2 separate regions of the Homo sapiens genome follow, and region 1 is linked to region 2. The links are contacts of gene promoters, found by promoter capture Hi-C in blood cells and fetal thymus (Javierre and others, 2016). All regions are on one chromosome and are shown on one strand. The core of a region is centred on a gene start or on the middle of the fragment in contact, and the rest is flanking DNA. Distances in the headings are between cores, read along the strand shown. Region 1 overlaps CUL9 (cullin 9). Region 2 holds the start of DLK2 (delta like non-canonical Notch ligand 2).

What was found. Contacts are between HindIII fragments. The CHiCAGO score rates a contact against its expected background, and 5 or more counts as called.
Region 1: a fragment that was not itself captured here is called in contact with the fragment with the promoter of DLK2 in region 2 in 1 of 17 cell types (total B cells); the score reaches 5.3 in total B cells.

What each region holds. Positions count from the first base shown.
Region 1 is chr6:43,183,762-43,189,500 of GRCh38, forward strand. It overlaps CUL9 (cullin 9), which reads left to right. Exons shown (of 41, transcript NM_015089.4): 2 at 541-1,144; 3 at 1,695-1,849; 4 at 2,194-2,694; 5 at 3,199-3,334; 6 at 3,485-3,678; 7 at 3,952-4,357; 8 at 4,762-4,954. The coding sequence starts at 550. Among named protein-coding and RNA genes, the nearest start is that of CUL9, 4.4 kb to the left of the region's middle. RefSeq lists an enhancer at 2,619-3,818. The HindIII fragment of the contact is 4,204 bases long and covers 844-5,047 here.
Region 2 is chr6:43,453,765-43,460,329 of GRCh38, forward strand. It overlaps DLK2 (delta like non-canonical Notch ligand 2), which reads right to left and starts at 1,784. Exons shown (of 6, transcript NM_023932.4): 1 at 1,631-1,784; 2 at 986-1,116; 3 at 647-710. The coding sequence starts at 1,061. RefSeq lists enhancers at 763-812, 2,441-3,282 and silencers at 1,343-1,422, 1,453-1,502, 1,603-1,842. The HindIII fragment of the contact is 6,033 bases long and covers 395-6,427 here.

The DNA of each region.
Region 1 (5,739 bases), core at 1,696-4,195, 270 kb before region 2:
TTCTTTTTTTTGACAGAATCTCACTCTGTTGCCCAGGCTGGAGTACAGTGGCGCGGTCTTGGCTCACTGCAACCTCCGCCTCCTGGGTTCAAGTGATTCTCCTGCCTCAGCCTCCTGAGTAGCTGGGACTACGGGCATGTGCCACCACACCTGGCTAATTTTTGTATTTTTAGTAGAGACGGGGTTTCACTATGTTGACCAGGCTGGACTTGAATTCCTGACCTCGTGATCTGCCCACCTTGGCCTCCTAAAGTGCTGGGATTACAGGCGTGAGCCACTGGGCGCAGCCAACTCTTCCATTTCTTAAACCCCTTCTTCATCCCCTCTCTGTCTTCACTCCATTCTCCTTCTGTTATAAATCCCAAAGTATGTTCAGCTATTTATTCCATCCTATTTTTTGCCTTTTCTGTTTGGCCTCCTAAATTCTACCATGCAGCCTACCGATCACCACCCACCTTCTCTGTGTCTCAAGATTCCACCCCCTCCATGTATTTTTTTTCTTTTCTCATACTGCCTTATCTTTCTCCTTGTGTATCCCAGGAGGTCAGGATGGTGGGGGAACGGCATGCTGGGGACCTCATGGTGCCCTTAGGGCCTCGGCTGCAGGCATATCCTGAAGAACTCATTCGACAGAGGCCTGGGCATGACGGGCATCCTGAATACCTGATCCGATGGAGTGTCCTGAAGTGTGGGGAAGTGGGCAAAGTGGGTGTGGAAGAAGGCAAAGCAGAGCACATCCTCATGTGGCTGTCGGCTCCTGAGGTCTACGCCAACTGCCCTGGGCTGTTAGGTGAGCGGGCACTATCTAAGGGACTTCAGCACGAACCAGCTGGGGTTTCAGGAAGCTTTCCTCGAGATCCAGGAGGCCTGGATGAAGTGGCAATGGGAGAGATGGAGGCTGATGTTCAGGCGCTGGTACGCAGGGCGGCCAGGCAGCTGGCAGAAAGTGGGACCCCAAGCCTCACGGCCGCTGTGCTTCACACCATCCACGTGCTCAGTGCCTACGCCAGCATCGGGCCCCTCACTGGTGTCTTCAGGGAGACAGGAGCCCTGGACCTGCTCATGCACATGTTATGCAATCCTGAGCCTCAGATCCGCCGGAGTGCAGGCAAAATGCTGCAGGCTCTGGCAGCCCACGATGCTGGTAAGAGACAGCCAGGGAAGAAGGAAAGGAATGGAGAAAATGGGGCCACAGGGAATAAGAAAGAGGAGAGATTTCCTAGCTCTGTAAGAACACCTAGTATTTGGTGAATATCAATTTGATGCAAAGGAAAAAATATAGATTAATAGGCTATTTCAGGTATATAAAGAGGCTAAAATGATAGCCTCTGGCTTATCTGTTCATTCTCAGTGCATTGACCAGAGAAGAGAATAGGACTTATCTGTATTTTTGAAACTGGATTGAGATTTATTAGTTGGTTTTGAAATCAATTTGGTGGGTTACAACCAACATTTTTTTAAAAACTTAAGTCATTAGTGTGTAGCACTTAGTAGGGGTAAATTTTGTAGCATAAAATATATGTTTCAGTTATATGTATGTATGTTTGTAACAGGTTACCATGTAAAATGTATTTCTTTCTGTGAGCCTTAGTAACAAAGTTTGAAAGCGTCTGGGGTAGGAGATAGAATCTAGGAAAGGCAGGGAGAAAGTACTGGGGATTGAGGAGAAGATATGGATTGGGTATGGATTACAGGGAGTCGGGCTCACGTCCTTCTATCACTGAGCCAGCAAGATGGCATCGAGCAGCACATGGATTTTGACAGTCGCTATACATTGCTGGAGCTGTTTGCAGAAACCACATCCTCTGAAGAACACTGCATGGCCTTTGAGGGCATTCATCTGCCTCAGGTACACTGCCAGCTGTAGGGAAATGCTGTGTACAAGGGCTAAGACATTATTTATGAAAACGTGGTTCAGGACTGAATGTTAGCACCAGAGCCACCTGGGAACTTGTTAACATGAAGGTTCATGTCCTCCCTCCCAGCCCCTCTCCATTCAGAATTTCTGAGATGAGAACCCAGGAATCTGTGTTTTAAGACACTCCCTATGCCTTTCTTACACAAATCAAAGTTTCAGAACTACAGGCCTGGGGAGAAGGCCTTTATATTTTTCTGTAGAGGAGGATACTTCAGGGAAGGGGAGAGGCTAAAGCCAGGAAGAGATGAACCTGTCCCAAGGATTGTGTCTTACAGATCCCAGGAAAGCTGCTTTTCTCCTTGGTGAAGCGCTACCTTTGTGTCACGTCCCTCCTGGATCAGCTGAATAGCAGTCCAGAGCTGGGAGCTGGAGACCAAAGCTCCCCATGTGCCACAAGAGAGAAAAGCCGGGGACAGCGGGAACTGGAGTTCAGCATGGCTGTGGGCAACCTCATCTCTGAGCTTGTGCGGAGCATGGGCTGGGCCCGGAACCTCAGCGAACAGGGCATGTCACCTCCCCGGCCAACCCGGTCCATCTTTCAGCCCTACATTTCAGGCCCCAGCCTTTTACTCCCCACCATTGTCACCACCCCCAGAAGACAAGGGTGGGTCTTCCGCCAGCGCTCTGAATTCTCCAGCCGTAGTGGCTATGGAGAATATGTGCAGCAGACACTGCAGCCAGGGATGCGAGTGCGGATGCTGGATGATTATGAGGAGATCAGTGCTGGGGACGAGGGCGAGTTCCGGCAGAGCAACAACGGCATTCCCCCTGTGCAGGTGGGCAGCACATGGTGGTGAGACACTGTTGGGAGTTTATTTGGGGTGGGGTGTAGCTGGGACTTCATAAGGAGGACTCCTGCAGGCCACCCAAGAAGAACCCCCCTGGGGAATTGGAATGATACAAGGGGGTTGGCATTTGTGCGGGGTGCATTTGGAGGGCTGAGAAAATCTGGCAGGGGTGTGGGTGGGCTGTAAGTTCATGGGAGACTCACCCAGGAAGCAGAACTGATAAATGGAGATACCTCCCCACCAACACCAGTGGAAGAGGCTAGGAAGGAATGTCGAGGCAGAGAATCATGGTTAAGAAAAGAGGCAGGGCCCACTCCTGATAAGGGAAGGAAGCCTTTTGCCATATGGGGGTTTTTCCAGGCTTAGCCAGGTGTGTATCTGAGGGTGCGCCCCAGATCTATGCTTGGGCATGTCCTTTCAAGCCTTCACAGGCCAAGGCTCAGAGGGTTGAGCCTTCTCTATTCTGCTCTCTTTCTTCCTCCCTCATACCAGGTTTTCTGGCAGTCGACAGGCCGCACTTACTGGGTGCACTGGCACATGCTGGAGATCCTGGGCCCTGAGGAAGCCACTGAGGATAAGGCTTCAGCAGCTGTGGAGAAGGGGGCAGGGGCTACTGTGTTGGGCACAGGTGAGCCTAAGAGGGGACATGGATAGCATGTCTCTGAACAGAGGATTAGTGACTGGGATGAAGCCACTTCTGACCAGGAGCAGCCCTAGGGGTCCAGAAATAGACCCCATTCCTGAGGGGTGCTGATGCCCGCCATGCCTGTGTCCTCAGCATTTCCCTCCTGGGACTGGAATCCTATGGATGGGCTGTACCCTTTGCCGTACCTCCAGCCCGAACCTCAGAAGAATGAGAGAGTGGGATATCTGACCCAGGCTGAATGGTGGGAGCTGCTTTTCTTTATCAAAAAGTTGGACTTGTGTGAGCAGCAGCCAATTTTCCAGAATCTTTGGAAGAACCTGGATGAGGTATTATAGGTCTGAGATACCTGGGGGTTTTCTAGTAGGGTTAGAGGTGGGATTCTCTAGAGGGAGTTTCAGATAGGGGTTACCGCTTAGGGGGAGGCTGGAGCTAGAGATTAGAGTTAGGAGGAGTCCTGCTGGGGGTTGGAGGCAAGTGCTGTGAGGGTCTAGTATGTAGAAGGTGTGGGGGCATGGTAGGGAGTGATCACCCTTCCCATTACTGACCCCAAGACCTTTGTGTCTGCTTGTCTCTTAAACGTATACCCCTTCTGTTGACAGACCCTGGGTGAAAAGGCCCTAGGTGAGATCTCTGTGTCCGTGGAAATGGCCGAGAGTCTGCTGCAGGTTCTCAGTAGTCGATTTGAGGGCAGCACTCTCAATGACCTGCTCAACTCCCAGATCTACACCAAGTATGGGCTGCTGTCTAATGAACCAAGCAGCTCGTCTACTTCACGAAATCACTCCTGTACCCCAGATCCAGAAGAGGAGTCCAAGTCGGAGGCCAGCTTCTCAGAGGAAGAGACTGAGTCCCTCAAAGCAAAGGCCGAGGCCCCTAAGACAGAGGCCGAGCCCACCAAGACAAGGACCGAGACCCCCATGGCACAGAGTGATTCTCAGCTGTTTAACCAGCTTCTGGTGACTGAGGGGATGACCCTGCCCACTGAGATGAAGGAGGCAGCCAGTGGTGAGTCAGGTTCTGGGAGGAAGCAATTGGAACAAGTCCTGGGTAGTCTCAGTAGAAGAAATGGATAGTCAGGATCGAAGGAAAGCCATGGAGGAAGGTGATTTTTGCAGGGGAAAATGCCTTGGAACCATGCGTCCATCTTCTTCCTTTTGACCTTGATTGTATTTAATTAACCAGCGCTCCCTTCCTTCAGTATCTCTGGAAAAGGAGGATCCGTTTTCTGGGGTGTCTTCATCTCCTTTGTTTGATCATTAGATCCCTGACACAGAATTGGAAAACTCTGCAAGCTGCAGTAGCCGATAATGTGTTTAAATATTGGTAGGATAACTGGGCTTGACTTTAAAGACTTCTAACTTCAAGGTGCCACAGTTCTTTTAGCCATTGCCTTTTCCCACCAATTTCAGAAATGGCCAGAGCCTTGCGGGGTCCCGGTCCTCGCAGCTCCCTGGATCAGCATGTGGCAGCGGTCGTGGCCACTGTGCAGATATCCAGCTTGGACACAAACCTGCAGCTTTCAGGGCTCTCTGCCCTCTCTCAGGCTGTGGAGGAGGTCACTGAGCGGGACCACCCTCTGGTCCGTCCTGACAGATCGCTGAGGTTAGCATACTGGGGAGGGAAGAGGTTTTGGTTGAAGCTGTAGGCAAAGGATGGTGGTAGCGGGGAAGGAGCTTTGAGATCACGAATTAGAAAAGCTTGGGGTGAGGGAAGGCTCAGCCTGAGGAGCAGCCGAGCAGGAGGGTTGGATGTTTTAATGGCTCGTATTCTTGGAGCACTTCTGTTATGCCAGGCACTGTGCTAGTATTTTACATGCATTCTCTCATTAAATCCACCTAACACCTGAGGAAGCGTTGGTAATATTATTATCCTACTATATGGGTGAGGAAACTGAAGCTTAGAGAATTTAAGTAACTTGCTTAGAGTTTTACAGATAGCAGAGCCAGGATTCAAACCTAGGTCTTTTTGGCTCTAGAACTGGAGTTTTTTCTCTTTCTTTTTCTTTTTTTTCTGTCCCTACGTACTTTTTTTTTTTCACATTAGACCTTAAAACCTACTTTATTTTAAATTTTTTTCTACCTTTATTTATTTATTTTTGAGACAGTCTTGCTATGTCGTCATGCTGGAGTGCAGTGGCGCGATCTCGGCTCACTGCAACCTCTGCCTCCCGGGTTCAAGGGATTCTCCCGCCTCAGCCTCCCAAGTAGCTGGGATTACAGGCACCACCACACCCAGCTAATTTTTGTACTTTTAGTAGAGACAGGGTTTCATCATGTTTGCCAGGATGGTCTCGATCTTCTGACCTCGTGATCTGCCTGCCTCGGCCTCCCAAAGTGCTGGGATTGCAGGCGTGAGCCACCGCGTCCAGCCCTCTACTTTTAAATTAT
Region 2 (6,565 bases), core at 534-3,033:
GGCAACAAAGCGAGACTCTGTCTCAAAAACAAAAAATAAAAATAAAAACAAAAAAGGTCATCAGGACTATCCTCCCACCATGATTCCAGGGCAAACACTTGACCCATATTTTAAAAGCCCTCCAGGGGTGAAGAGTCTCAAAGACCCCCAGCCAATTGAACTACCTGCCTCATCAACTCATTTCCTTATGTCCACTTTCCTCCTGCTACAGAATTTGCCCAATCTCCCAGTGAGTCAACTACTCAAACTCATCAAGAAAGATCCTCTTTCATTGTAAGTGTTTCTCCCCAGCAACTCTCCCTGCAGCATTTCTTTTCCAGGCTAAACCATTTCTCTTTCCCTTTTTCCTTTATCTTTCCATTTCCTCATGGCACCCAATCCCCAAGCTCTCTCAAGCTTTAGGTCTCTCTCCCTGTCAGGAGTTCAGACAATCCCTGGATCAGACTTGGGAGATTAAAGAAGTGGGGAGATAAAAACTAGAAGAAGCAAGAGAGGTGAGGTAAAGGGGAAAGGGGGACTGGCCAGTCAGCCATAGGAGTGATGAGGCATGAAGAGTAGAGTCTGAAGCCCCTAGACACTGTTGTGCACGTGAAGGGCTTAGAAATGGGTACCAAAGGGTTTGGGGGCACGTGCTCAGGACAGGTACCTGCAGGAGCCGTCAGGTGCACAGCAGCCGTGGGCCAGGTCACAGTGGGAGCTGCAGTCATCGGCTGCAAGAGATTGATGTGGGAGGGGTGAGTCTGAGTCAGGGCACAGCTCGCTGGGATGCGGGACTCAGGAGAGGATTGGGGTTCCAGTAACTGAGCGGACTCAACCCTAGGGCAGGACATAACACAGAAACTCATCCCATTCCAAAAAGGCAACCTCGGTCTTGCTTGCCCCGCGGGTCGGAGCGACTGCAGTGCCGCCTCCGGCCGGCAGAGGTCAACGTGCAAGCGAGGACGGCTGGACAGGGCCGCGACTGGAGCCCAGCGGGCGCGCTCACCTCGGACAGGCTGACCGGGAGCCCCCAGAATGCACAACAGGCACACGAGATGCAGGCAGCGGCAGCCGCTGGGCATGGTCAGCGCCGGCCCCAGGAGGGACGGACGGATGGACGGCCGGACGCGTGGACACCTGTGGGACGGCACCGGTTGGGAGGCGGCCGGACGCGGAGATAGCGGCACGGATACGGGTTCCAAGTGACAGGAGCCGACGAGGGAGAGGGGCGCCGGGACAGAAGAAGGGGATGGGGGTAGCGGGAGGATGGGGGCAGGGAAGGGTTGAGCAGGCGAAGAGAGCGAGGAGAGCGAAGACAGGAACCCGGGAGCGGGGTCTGCAAGGAGGGGAAAGATGGGCATCGCGGAGCGAGGCCAGGCGCGGGAATGGCTGGGGTTGGGATCGTAGTCAGGACGGAGGGGTCCGCGGGATGGGGACAGCGCCGAGAGGCGGCCTCGAGCACGGAGGGGACGCGGGGGCCGGAGGGAAGGACGGTTCCCGGCAGCGAGCAGTCTCCGCCCCACAGCTCCGACAGCCCCCCCCCCCGCCACCACCACTCTCTCCCACGTCCCCTTTCTATCTCCGCCGCGCTGGGTTCGGCGGCGGCGCGGGGCCTGGAATCCCCACCGCGCCCTGTCCCCGCAGTCCTCACCTCCGGCGGGGAGGTGGCGCGCCCCGGGGCGCAGAGAGAGGCCGGATCCGACGGGCGCCGCCGAGGGGCCGTGAGGGAGCGCGGGGCCGCCCCTAGCTGGCCGCGGGGCCGGGCGCCGAAGCGGCTGCCATGCGAGCCGAGCGCTCGGGAATCTGGGGCTCCAGGCGACCCCGAGCGGCGGCAGCGGCTGCTCCTCGCGCGCGCTCAGGCCCCCTGCCAGGGGCGGAGCCCGCCCCCACCCCCATCCCCCCCCCCGCGACGCACGGCGCACACCTAGCACCCGGCGCGCCCCGGGGCCCCGGCCCTCCGCGGCTACCCAACGCCCCGAACCCAGCTTCCTTCCAAGAGAGGAGGAAATCTTAGGAGTCTCAATGGGAGCAAACTATTAAGCCAAAGGAGCGCAACCCCGTTATTCTCTCATCTCCCATGCCCACTTTCCCGACCAGCGCTCCGCGGCCCACGCCCCAGCCCTGCCTTCGCTTGTCCGCCGCTCATCACGCTTCTCATATAGATCTATGCACACGCAGGCAATCGCTCCCCGCCCTCCGCCTGTCACCAGCCCACGCCTCCCCGCTTGTAAAGCCTTCATCACCTGCTTCATCTGTGTGCTCCTCTGCTCCTCCTCGCCCTCCGCTTCTTCCTGTCCACGTTGCCGTCTCCAGCCTTCCAAGATCAACCTATCCCTATATAAATATCAACCCGATCCACCCAACCACACCCCGGCCCTACCCCCACCACCCTTCCCTCCCTCAAGTCTCAGCCCTTCCACCCCATTCCTTTTTGTGACTGCCTCTGAGAATCCTTTCTGGACTGGGAATGCCCCTGACTCTGTAAATGTGCACACAAAACCCCCTCCACCGCCAAGTCTTCTCCTGTACCCCATCACGTTCGTCCTTGGCCTCAGGCTAAACCTCAACTGCCCAAACCTGGAGCTCAGATTCAGAGAGTAACGGAGGGGGAGTGGGGGAAAGCTGCCCTCCAGGCCTCTTTGCCCCCTTCTGGCTAATGGCTCAGAGACACATTTCAAGACAAGGACCCAGCCAAGCTCGGTGGGCTCACGCCTATAATTCCAGCACTTTGGGAGGCTGAGGCGGGCGGATCACCTGAGGTCAGGAGTTCGAGACCAGCCTGGCCAACATGGTGAAACCCGTCTCTATTAAAAATACAGAAATTAGCCAGGCGTGGTGGTGCGCGCCTGTAATCCCAGCTACTCGGAAGGCTGAGGCAGGAAAATCGCTTGAAAACCCGGGAGGCAGACGTTGCAGTTAGCCAAGATCGCGCCACTGCACTCCAGCTTGGGGGACAGAGCAAAACTCCGACCCCCGCCCCCCCCCAAAAAAAGACAAGGACCCAGAACATAATTTCTAGTTTGTGCAGGACAACAGGGCAGAGGTCAGGAACGCTAGCGCCCATCTCTAGTCCTTCAGATTGAGATTTCACCATCTTTAAATTCAAAACATCGGAAGGAGCAGTCGCTAGTCGGGGCAGAGCAGCTTCCCACCTTCACACAGCCACCTCCACAGGCACAGAGCCCCAGGGCTCATTTTTCCTGCAGTCTCCATTGGATATAACACTTACACCCACTCAGCTCCCTAGCTGGCCTCCTCTCAGCTGTGATCGCCTCTTCCCTGAAGAGCTCTCTGAATTTGAGTAATGACATGGCTGTACCATTCATTTTGTTTAAACACATTTTTTTTTTTGGTGAAAAATTGCAAACAACCTATAATTCAAAAATTACTGTAGGCAAATAAATTATGGCACATCAACACTATGTGACTGTTAAAAATACTTTTTTTTTTTTTTGACGTCTAAAGATGTCCAAAAAAGCTAAGAATATGTAAAGTGCGGTGGGGGGAAGCCGGAAACAAAGAAGAACGTACTTTGACATTGGCAGTGCTTTTCTCTGGATGATCGAATTATAGAGGTTTTTTTTTTTTTCTTATTAATACTTTTCAGCATTAACACTTTTTTTTTTTTTTTTTTTTTTTTTTTTGAGACGGAGTCTCGCTTTGTGGCCCAAGCTGGAGTGCAGTGGCGCTATCTCGGCTCTCTGCAAGCTCCGCCTCCCAGGTTCACGCCATTCTCCTGCCTCAACGTCCCAAGTAGCTGGGACTACAGGCGCCCACCACCCCGCCCGGCTAATTTTTTTTTGTATTTTTAGTAAAGACGGGGTTTCACCATGGTAGCCAGGATGGTCTTGATTTCCTGACCTCGTGATCCGCCCGCCTCGACCTCCCAAAGTGCTGGGATTACAGGCGTGAGCCACCGCGCCCGCCCCTTTTTTTTTTTTTTTAAACAATGAACATCTATAACTTGTTTTTTGTTGTTGTTTGTTTGTTTTTCCTTGAGATTATCACTCTGTCGCCCAGGCTGGAGTGCAGTAGTGCAACCTCAGCTCAGTACAACCTCGTCTCAGCCTCCAGTATAGCTGGAATTGCAGGCACAGCGCCACCACGCCCAGCTAATTTTTTTTTCTCGAGACTTTCAGTGCTTTTCTCTGTCAGATATCATTATCTGACATTATATTAAATATTTATTGTTTATTGACCATCTCCCCACTACAAAGCAAACTCCAGAGGTCTGGGATGTTTTCTTGCTCATCACAGCATCCCCAGTGTCTAAAACAATGCCTGGCATAGTAGGTATTCAATAAATTTTTTTAAAATTCTGTTTGTTTAATTAACTCTTTTTTTTTTTTTTTTTTTTTGAGACAGGGTCTCGCTCTGTCACCCAGGCTGAAGTGCAATGGCTCCATCTTGGCTCACTGCAACCTCCGCCTCCCGGGTTCAAGCAATTCTTCTGCCTCAGCCTCCCGAGTAGCTGGGATTACAGGCGCGCCCCCACCAAGCCAGGCTAATTTTTGTATTTGTAGTGGAGACAGGGTTTCGCCATGTTGGCCAGGCTGGTTTACAACTCCTGACCTCAGGTCATCTGCCCGCTTGGCCTCCCAAAGTGCTGGGATCACAGGCGTGAGCCACTGCCCTCGGCCTGCCCAGTTAATTTTTGCATTTTCAGTAGAGACGGGGTTTCGCCATGTTGGCCCGGCTAGTCTCGAAGTGACCCCAAGTGGTCCACCGGCCTTGGCCTCCCAAAGTGCTAGGGTTACAGGCATGAGTCACCGTGCCCAGCCTAACATTTTTTTAGAATAAAGTAAAAAGAAAAAGGCCAGGTGCGGTGGCTCACGCCTGTAATCCCAACACTTTGGGAGGCTGAGGTGAGAGGATCATGAGGTCAGGAGATCGAGACCATCCTGGCTAACACGGTGAAGCCCCGTCTCTACTAAAAATACAAAAAATTAGCTGGGTGTGGTGGCAGGCGCCTGTAGTCCCAGCTACTCGGGAGGCTGAGGCAGGAGAATGGCATGAACCCAGGGGGCGGAGCTTGCAGTGAGCCGAGATAGCACCACTGCACTCCAGCCTGGGTGACAGAGCGAGACTCCGTCTCAAAAAAAAAAAAAAAAAGAAAGCAAACTGGCTGGGCGCGGTGGCTCACGCCTGTAAATCCAGCACTTTGGGAGGCCAAGGCAGGCAGATCACCTGAGGTCAGGAGTTCGAGACCAGCCTCACCACCATGGAGAAAACCTGTCTCTACTAAAAATACAAAATTAGCCGGGCGTGGTGGCACCTGCCTTTAATCCCAGCTACTTGAGAGGCTGAGGCAGGAGAATCGCTTGCACCTGGGAGGCAGAGGTTGCGGTGAGCCTAGATCATGCCACTGCACTCTAGCCTGGGCAACAAGAGCAAGACTCCATCTCAAAGAAAAGGAAAGGAAAAAAACCACCCACAATCCTACTAGCTTGAGAAAACCACAATTATTGTTGTTTTGATTCCTTTTTTCCATTCAGATATTTTTACAGAGGTATAATCATAATGTACCTACAGTATTGTATCCTGCTTTTTTTTACTCCATGTCATATATTGATAGTTCTCAAAAGCATTTTTTATGGCTATGTGATATTCCATTAAATAGATATACTATATTTACTTTACTTAGCCCTAGTTATTGGCTGCTTAGGTTGTTTACTTTTTTTGTCATTATAAATTCATTCAACAAATATTGAGTAGTCATATATTACCATTAGATACCAGAGCCACTGAGGATACAGCTCCCAGATAATATTTATTAGTGCCACACATTTTTATGAAGGTAGGTTTTTTCCCCATGTTTTAGGCTCCTTCCTTATGATCAAGTCTGAATTGATGAGTGACTGAGTCAAAGAAGTCATGAAAAATAAATTCTTTTTAACTGATAAAATGTACTGAGATTCACTCATGAAATAATAAAGGTAGTTGATGCCATTAGAGGTATCACTTAGTGCCCCCTTGTGCTTTGAAGATTTTAGCACCTGGCTTGTCAGTCTCTTCACTCTCACTTCTGTCAAATTATTGGTGATTCTTGATGATTCAATATGACATAGACAGTTCTTCCAACAAGTGTGATAGATTGCAAAGATGGCCACTTTTCTTCCTCCTGTTCTACAAGACGCTTTGCAATTATTTTGCTGCTTTTCCCAGCAAGAGGTGGAGTATATTTCTCAACCTCTTGCTTGAATCTGGGCTGGCCTTATGACTTGCTTTAGCTGATAGAATGGGGTAGAAATGATGTTGTGTGAGTTCCTAGGGTCTAGGTCTCAAGAGACTTGCAGCTTGCCGCTTTGCCTCTTAGAATGCTTCCAACATCATGTCAAGAAGTCCATCTAGCCTACTGGAAGATGAAACGCCCCGTGGAGGAGAGCTGAGGTACCCTGGCCAACAACCACTAGACGTGCAGTCATATTGGATTACCTGGCCCCAGTTAAGCTTCCAGATGACTGCAGCCACATGAGTGAACCTAGGCAAGACAAACAGAAGAACTGCTCAGCAGAGCCCAGCCCATATTGCCAAGCTATAAGCAGATAAATGGTGGTTGTTTTAAGCCACTAAATTTTGGAATGGT